Regions from separate parts of the Homo sapiens genome. Here region 1 is linked to region 2. The links are contacts of gene promoters, found by promoter capture Hi-C in human tissues and cell types (Jung and others, 2019). All regions are on one chromosome and are shown on one strand. Each heading gives the region's core, a stretch centred on a gene start or on the middle of the fragment in contact. The rest is flanking DNA. Distances are from core to core; before and after follow the strand shown.

Region 1 (3,715 bases), core at 829-3,328, 100 kb before region 2:
CAGGTATTTCTTTACAGCAACAAAAGAACAGCCTAATATATGCAGCAATATTCACAAGTACCAAATGGTAGAAGCAACCCAAATATCCCTCAACAAATGACGGATAAACAGAATGTTTAAGTGTATACAGAAGAACACTATTCAGCCACTGTCTCACAGTGAACAAGTCCAAACACATCTACCTCAAAGTCCAAGGAAGCTGACAGGCCAAAGAAAGAGGCTGACAAATTCACATCTTTTTTTTTTTTTTTCTTTTGAGGCAGAGTCTTGCTCTGTCGCCCAGGCTGGAGTGCAGTGGCGCCATCTCGGCTCACTGCAAGCTCCGCTTCCCGGGTTCACGCCATTCTCCTGCCTCAGCCTCCCGAGTAGCTGGAACTACAGGCGCCCGCCACCACGCCCGGCTAATTTTTTGTATTTTTAGTAGAGACGGGGTTTCACCGGGTTAGCCAGGATGGTCTCGATCTCCTGACCTCGTGAAATGCCCACCTCGGTCTCCCAAAGTGCTGAGATTACAGGCGTGAGCCACCGCGCCTGGCCCACAAATTCAGTTCTTAAAAAGAAACATTTAATAGGGACTTAGAAACAGAAGCCATGTCAGTCTCAGGCTACGGTGAGTCAAGATGGCGGCTCCCTGCGCCGTCACCACCCAGGCCCAGGGCTTCTATTGCCATAGTGCAGGGGACATGCCTCAGAGGGGGTGGGCAGGAATTTCCCTAAGGCCAGGACTTGTGATAAGGATGTGCTCTTACACAAGGAACAACAGATGAACGGGAACTCTCAGAGGCATTCCCGGAACTGAGGTTAATCAGAAGCCAACACGACAAACTAGCGTCCAAGATGGAGCGGCTTCGGCCTCCATGATCCGCCCGCGCCGCCCCACTAATCCAGCTCTGACCGTCTCACCTGCCCTCCTCTTCCGCGATGGTCCCTGAGCCTTAGGGAGGGTGCTTGGGGTTGTCTGGCTTCAGCAGCGGTGCCTTGGCGTCGGAAAACAGGTCGGGCCCGGTGAGAGTCCCAGTGAGGGAGGGTCACCGGCTGTTGAATCATCTCTAGTCTTCAGGATACCACGACTTCTGTTTTCTCAGAGAAAATAAAACAACAAGAGATACATAACATTAATAATTTGCACACAAGGATGACAATCAAAAGGGAATTTGTATTTCAGAACAGTAACAAAAAAGAACCTATTTCATTAAGAAGCCGACTAAAAGCATCGTGAAGGAAACTAAAACCCGGTTTTTCTTTAGAGACTTGTAGCCAGTGAATGATTCAGGATTAGCCCAAATTGTAAGCAAATAATAACTCAAAAACAACGGTCAGAGCTAGGATCTAAATTTTTCTCTCTCTAGTTTCCCCATTTCTACCAAGGATAAATCATAGTAGGACCAGTTTATTTGCAAAATAAATTTCGGTCTCATTATACTTGGCCTATTTGCATGAAGCGTGGCAAGAATAGTTACCAGCCCTAGAGGCTTTTTTTTTTTTTTTTTTTCCCTGTGACAGGGGCTTGCTCTGTCAGCCATGCTGGAGTACAATGGTGCAATCAGAGCTCACTGCAGCCTCAGCCTCTCAGGCTCAAACACTCCTCCTGCCTCAGCCTCCCGAGTAGCTGGGACCCTTGGCACACCCCACCACACCCAGCTCATTTTTTATGTTTTGTAGAGACAGGGTCTCAGCATGTTGCCTAAGCTGGTCGGCTCTTTTTAAGTTGGCTTTGCTGGAACTTTTTTAGGGAATTTTGGACTCAACTTATTAAAAGCCTCAAGGGTAGGAAGCCAAGCGAAGGATTCACTGAATGAAATTGAAGTATTTTACCGCAAATTGTGTTTCTTTGCCATGTCTTGAAATAGCCTTGCAAAGCTTTCTCTTGTGGGGAAAAGCTGCATTCTGAAGAGAATCCTTTTCCTTTTTCAGGACTTTTCCCTGATTCAAGAGAGAATCAACTCTGGTAAGAAACATTTACAATCTGTTCTCTCTGAAGCTACCTGGAGGCTTTCTCTGTGTAATAGGAACTTGGTCACCACAATCCCTCATTAACCCAGACATTCCTTCTTTTGATTCCAGGTCTTTAGATAGTAACTCCTTCAACCAATTGCCAATCAGTAAATCTTTGAATCTACCTATGACCTGGAAGTCCCTGTTTCAAGTTGTCCCACCTTTCCTGATCGAACAAATGTATGTCTTCCCTGTATTGATTGGTGTCTCATGGCTCCCTAAAATTTATAAAACCAAGTTGTGGCCCAAACACCTTGGGCACTTGTTCTCACGGTCTCCTGAGGCCGTGTCATGGGCCACAGTCTCTCATATTTGGCTCAGAATAAATCTCTTCCAATATTTTACAGTTTGACTCTTTTCGTTGATTTTTTCATGCCTTTACTTTTGCAGTAGTAGGTAGGGGTTTCCCCAGTCCACGTACAATATCCATTTTCCATTTTCCTTTTTTTTTTTTTTCCTGAGTCTCTATTGCCCAGGCTGGAGTGCAATGGCACAATCTCGGCTCACTGCAGCCTCTGCCTCTTGGGTTCAAGCAATTCTCCTGCCTCAGCCTCCCCAATAGCTGGGACTACAGGTGCATGCCACCATGCCCGGCTAATTTTTGTATTTTTAGTATAGATGGGGTTTCATCATGTTGGTCAGGGTGGTCTTGAACTCCTAACCCCAAGTGATCCGCCCACCTCGGCCTCCCAAAGTGCTAGGATTACAGGTGTGAACCACTGTACCAGCTTCAATATCCATTTTCATAAAGCATTTAGGTAAAGGATATGTAATGCCTTACATAAAGCCTGTTTAAACATCTCGGCTTTCATAACTCTATCACACAAGTCGACTTTCATAACTCGACGTCTTTCTGTTCTGCTCCCAGGAACTTCTTTTTCCCACCTCCAGACCATTTTACCCTCTCTTGTGAAAAAGGATGTGGGTGCCCCACAGGGGCTTGATCCAAGGGACCCTGGCCCTTCTGTCAATCTTATCTTGATTAACCCACCTCAACATTGGCCCCCGCAATTGTTGGTCAGTTTGCTCAGTGTAACTTTTGCCTTCCAATTTTTATAGTTAGAGTGCCTTCTCCAATCTGGCAAAAACTGTTTTGGAGCTCTTTACTGTTGAGGGACCAGCGGGGGCTCCCTTTGTTCACCCAACTTTCGATAGTGTTGTATTAAGACCTTTGTGAATAACCCCCCATTATTCATTCCATTGCTTAACAACCATGTACAGATTCCACCCCGCTAGGATGCACCCCATGACTCTCTCCTTTCCTTTTTCCTCTTGGTTTCACCCCATCCACTTTTTACCTTTTTTTTGAGATGGAGTCTTACTCTGCCACCCAGGCTGGAGTGCAGTGGCAGTCTTGACTCACTGCAATTCTCCTCCCTCAGTCTCCTGAGTAGCTGGGATTACAGGTGCGCGCCACCACACCTGGCTAATTTTTGTATTTTTAGTAGAGATGAGGTTTCGCCATGTTGGCCAGGCCAGTCTCGAACTCCTGATCTCAGGTGGTCTGCCCACCTCTGCCCCTCAAAGTGCTGAGATTACAGGCGTGAGCCACCAGGCCTGGCCCATTTTTTACCTATTTAAAACTAATCGTTTAAAAATTTTCCCCTTCCTAGGATGAGTCCTTGGACTCCCTTTTGCCTTTCCCAATAATTTTATTAATTAGCCTAAAGTTTTTATAAGCATCTGGATGACCCATGAGGGGAAGTTGAGACCCAATGAG
Region 2 (3,876 bases), core at 1,101-3,600:
GTGTCTGCCACTGCGGGTCCCCTTTCACACCTGCGCACCATCCCAGGTGGCACCTTCTGTAGGGGCTGGACCAGACCCACTAGCCTTTCCGGGGCGGGACAGAGGGAACAGCCTCTCAGTGGCGAGCACTAAATTTAATTCAATCTGCGAATCAAATGTGCTCTGATTGTCCCTAGGTGATTCTCGCAATAAGCACTTGCCTGGGCTGGGCAGTTTGCACCTGGGCTGAAGAGGAGCTGGGCCCAGAGGGAGGCAACGTGCAAGGGCCTGGGCCCCTGTGGAGGGGAGGCGGCAGGTGGAGGCCCCTTGAGAATCCCAGTAGCGCCCTTCCTAGGAGCAGCTCCTGCAGCACTAGATTCAAGGGCCTGTAGCGGTAGCCGGGGCGGGGCGCGGGGGAGGTAGGGCAGCAGGAAAGCGGGGCACCAGGGAAGAGGGGCGACAGGGAGGCGGGGCGTGGGGGAGGAGGGGTGAAGATGACGGGAGGCGGTGCACGGGGGAGGCGGGGCACAGGAGAGGCGGGTCGACAGGGAGGTGGGACGCTGGGGAGAAGGGGCGAATGGGGGCGGGGCGATGGGGAGGCGGGGCGACGGGAAGTAGGGGCAGTGGGGGAGGCGGGGCATGGGGTAGACAGGTGTGGGGGAGGCGGGGCACCAGGGAAGCGGGGCGTGGGGGGAGGCGGGGCGTGAGAGAGGCGGGGCAGTGGGGGAGGCGGGGCGTGGGGGGAGGCGGGGCAGTGGGGGAGGCGGGGCAGTGGGGGAGGCGGGGCGTGGGGGGAGGCGGGGCAGTGGGGGAGGCGGGGCAGTGGGGGAGGCGGGGCAGTGGGGGAGGCGGGGCGTGGGGGAGGCGGGCCGAGGGCGAGAGGGCGCAGGGAGGCGGGTGGGGGTGGGGCCACGCGCGGAGGGGCAGGGAAGGGCGGGGCGGGGCGGGGCGGGACGGGGCTGGGGGGGACAGGCATCAGGTATGAAGAGTTTGGGGCTGGCGGGGCGTGTCCGGCTGTGGCGTGGGCACCACTATGGGAGACCCTGGCTTGGCAAGTGACCTTGCAGCCTTGGCTGGGGAAGGGCTAGATGCTGGGTGGGTGCCGGTAGAGTGGAAAGAATGACAGGTTCAGGTGAATTAAGGAAGGATGGTTGACTCGGTGGCTGGGACATTAGAGACAGGTATTCCCAGCCTCAGGCGCTGTCCTAAGCCCAGCAGGTACTGACCCTTGATGGTCACCTCACCCTATGAGGGAGCTGAGGCCTGGGGAACCCAAGGGGCTAGTCCAGAACCCACAGCCGGGGGAAGGAGGAACCGGGTCTTAAACCCAGGTAGCTCACTCCAGAACCAACTCAACCTCTGTTACAGGTGGCCGGCCAGAAAATGCCCCACCCCACCCATTGACAGTCGGGGAAACTGAGGCCTCAGTAGGTGAAGTGCCTGGCCCAAGCACCAAGGCACACAGAGACGCTCAGGCTTGACCCTGGCTCCGGACGTCCAGCCCCTGCCGCTGCCCCACCCCTCTGCTGCCCTTGGGAGAGGGGCAGCTCAGAGCCTCGACTCTGCACTCTGCATCAGCACCCCCCAAGGGCTTGGGTGGGGTCTTGAGAGGAGGGGGTGGCCTCAGGGAGCGACCTGGGCTTTCCAAGCCTCTCCCAGAGCAGCCCGTCTCTCACACAAGGCCAGAAGGCAGGTGGGTGCTGATGGCTTTCCCAGCAAGAGACCGAGGGGGCGGGCCCCCAAGAGCTCCAGAAAGCTCTCCACCGGACACCAGCAGGAACAGCACTGCAGATGGAGCAGCAGGGGCAAAGACCCGAGGTGATAGTGAGGGGCAGCCGGGAGGCCTTGGGCCTAGCAGTGCATTGCTGAGTGTGGGTGAGGAGGAGGTGAGCACGCAGCCTTAGCTTGAGGGCATTGACTGTGTTTTTACTTAAATGCTCTTAAAGGGGCCTGGGTGTGATGCTGACTCTAGGATGACGATGCTTGGCCAGTGACCAGCAAATAGAGGGTCTGTGACCCCAAGGTCCTGTGACTATGGAGCCCAGACATGGGGTTGAGGGGTGTCAGGCATGGCCCATTCCGGGGCGAGGCTCCCTGCCCTGCACTGCAGGGCTGAGGCACTGAGCGGCAAGCCAGGCGAGGGCCAGCACCACCTTCCACCTGCCGTGGCACGGGTGCACAGGACGTTCCAAGGCCAACCACAATGACTTCTCCTTCCCCTCTGGCCCCAGATGTCCTGGAGGGAAACAACAGTCCCTGGCCTGGCGCCTGGAGCTGGGGACCAGTGTGAGGCCCATTGTTTGAGGCTGGAGCTGGTGGGGGCCACTAGGAAGCCCACGGCAATGCCCTTCATCCCACTTACCGCAGCTCCAGAGCCCTGCGGGAGGACTCAGAGTCAGGGACACAGCAGCGTCCGGCGAGATGAAGGCGCTCGGGGCTGTCCTGCTTGCCCTCTTGCTGTTCGGGCGGCCAGGTGCGGGGCAAAGGGTAACCCTGCGGTGAGGGGGCAGCAACAGCAGTCCTGGAGCACAGGGACCTCCAGGGACCCCCAGCAGGGGCTTAGGAAGAAGGAGGGGATGAGGCTGGAGTCCCCAGCCCAGAGCAGCATGGATGGAAGCTGGCCTGGGTCCCCGAGAGTCCCCAAATATCTGCGCCCCTGTTTATGTGGGGTGCGGGGAGGGGCTACCATAAAGGGCCAGCCCACAGCAGCTGCTGTTGTAACTACAATGCCAGGGCACACTCGGCTGCAGGACAGTGAGTAGGGTGAGTAGGGTAGTAGGACAGTGAGTAGGGTGAGTAGGCTGCAGGACAGTGAGTAGGGTGAGTAGGGTGTTCAGGGTAGGGGCCCTCCCCAGCCACCCTGGGGCCCGAGGATGGCTGGGGAGGGCCAAGGAGTTGGGGGCACGATGCTTGCCCAGAGCAGGTGTCCTCCATACCCGGGTAGCTGAGGCTTACAAGCATCCCTGCACGGCCAGGGAGAGGGCAGACACAGCAGGAGGAAGAGGAAGAGGACGAGGACCACGGGCCAGATGACTACGACGAGGAAGATGAGGATGAGGTGGAAGAGGAGGAGACCAACAGGCTCCCTGGTGGCAGGAGCAGAGGTATGGCCGCCCCAACCCCAGAGCCCTGCTGCCTGATCTGCCTGGAGCATTCTGGGCGGGGCTGTGTGATGGAAGCCAGCAGGCCACAGTCCTGCTGTGAGCTTGCCTCCAGCAGAGTGGGGGACACTCAGTACACCCCTCACTGCTGCTCACCATGACACTCAGTTGCCTTCCAGAGTAGGGAACAGGGGAAGAAGCCACCAGCTGGGAGGGTCAGTGGTGCCAGGATGTAGAGGTTAAATAGGAGTTCACCAGGCAGAGAAGGGCTCAGTGGGGGCCTAGGGTGGAGACACAAGCACAGAGGCCCCAGGGTAGGGTTCAGTTTTGTGGGGCAGAGAGAGCAGCAGGGTGGGCCGGTCCTGTACAGGGGAGGGCTGGATTGGCTGCTGCGGGCTGGGGAGCCAGGGAACCGCTTAGAGCAGAGCAGAGTAGGGCTAAGAAGAGCCCACCCTCACTGCCCACCTGACACACCCCTACACGTGGGCCACCCTCTGCTCTCTCCCATCCCGAGAAAAGCAGAGCAAATCGCCGCATCCAACCCGAGGGCCGGCCCCTCCCTAGCCAGGGACCACAGCGTGCCCCACCACACACAGCCCCTCCCTAGCCAGGGCCCCCAGCATGCCCCACCACACACAGCCCACCCCCCTCCCAGGAGCCCCAAGCCTGCCCTCAGCACGAGCCCTGCCCCACACACCCACGAGGTGTCCCCTGTGAGGCCCTCCTCTGCCAGGCCTGGTGCTCCTGGAGGCAGGACTGAGTCAGACCCACCTCCAGGTTTCTGTGACCACGGCAG

The links. Contacts are between HindIII fragments. The study calls those that stand out against the background at their distance.
Region 1: a fragment that was not itself captured here is called in contact with the fragment with the promoter of GPIHBP1 in region 2 in 3 of the 25 tissues and cell types used here (H1 embryonic stem cells, lymphoblastoid cells and mesendoderm cells).

What each region holds. Positions count from the first base shown.
Region 1 is chr8:143,108,082-143,111,796 of GRCh38, forward strand. No RefSeq gene overlaps it. Among named protein-coding and RNA genes, the nearest start is that of LY6L, 29 kb to the left of the region's middle. The HindIII fragment of the contact is 5,687 bases long and covers 1-3,715 here.
Region 2 is chr8:143,210,868-143,214,743 of GRCh38, forward strand. GPIHBP1 (glycosylphosphatidylinositol anchored high density lipoprotein binding protein 1) reads left to right here and starts at 2,351. Exons shown (of 4, transcript NM_178172.6): 1 at 2,351-2,452; 2 at 2,955-3,083. The coding sequence starts at 2,401. The HindIII fragment of the contact is 48,923 bases long and covers 1-3,876 here.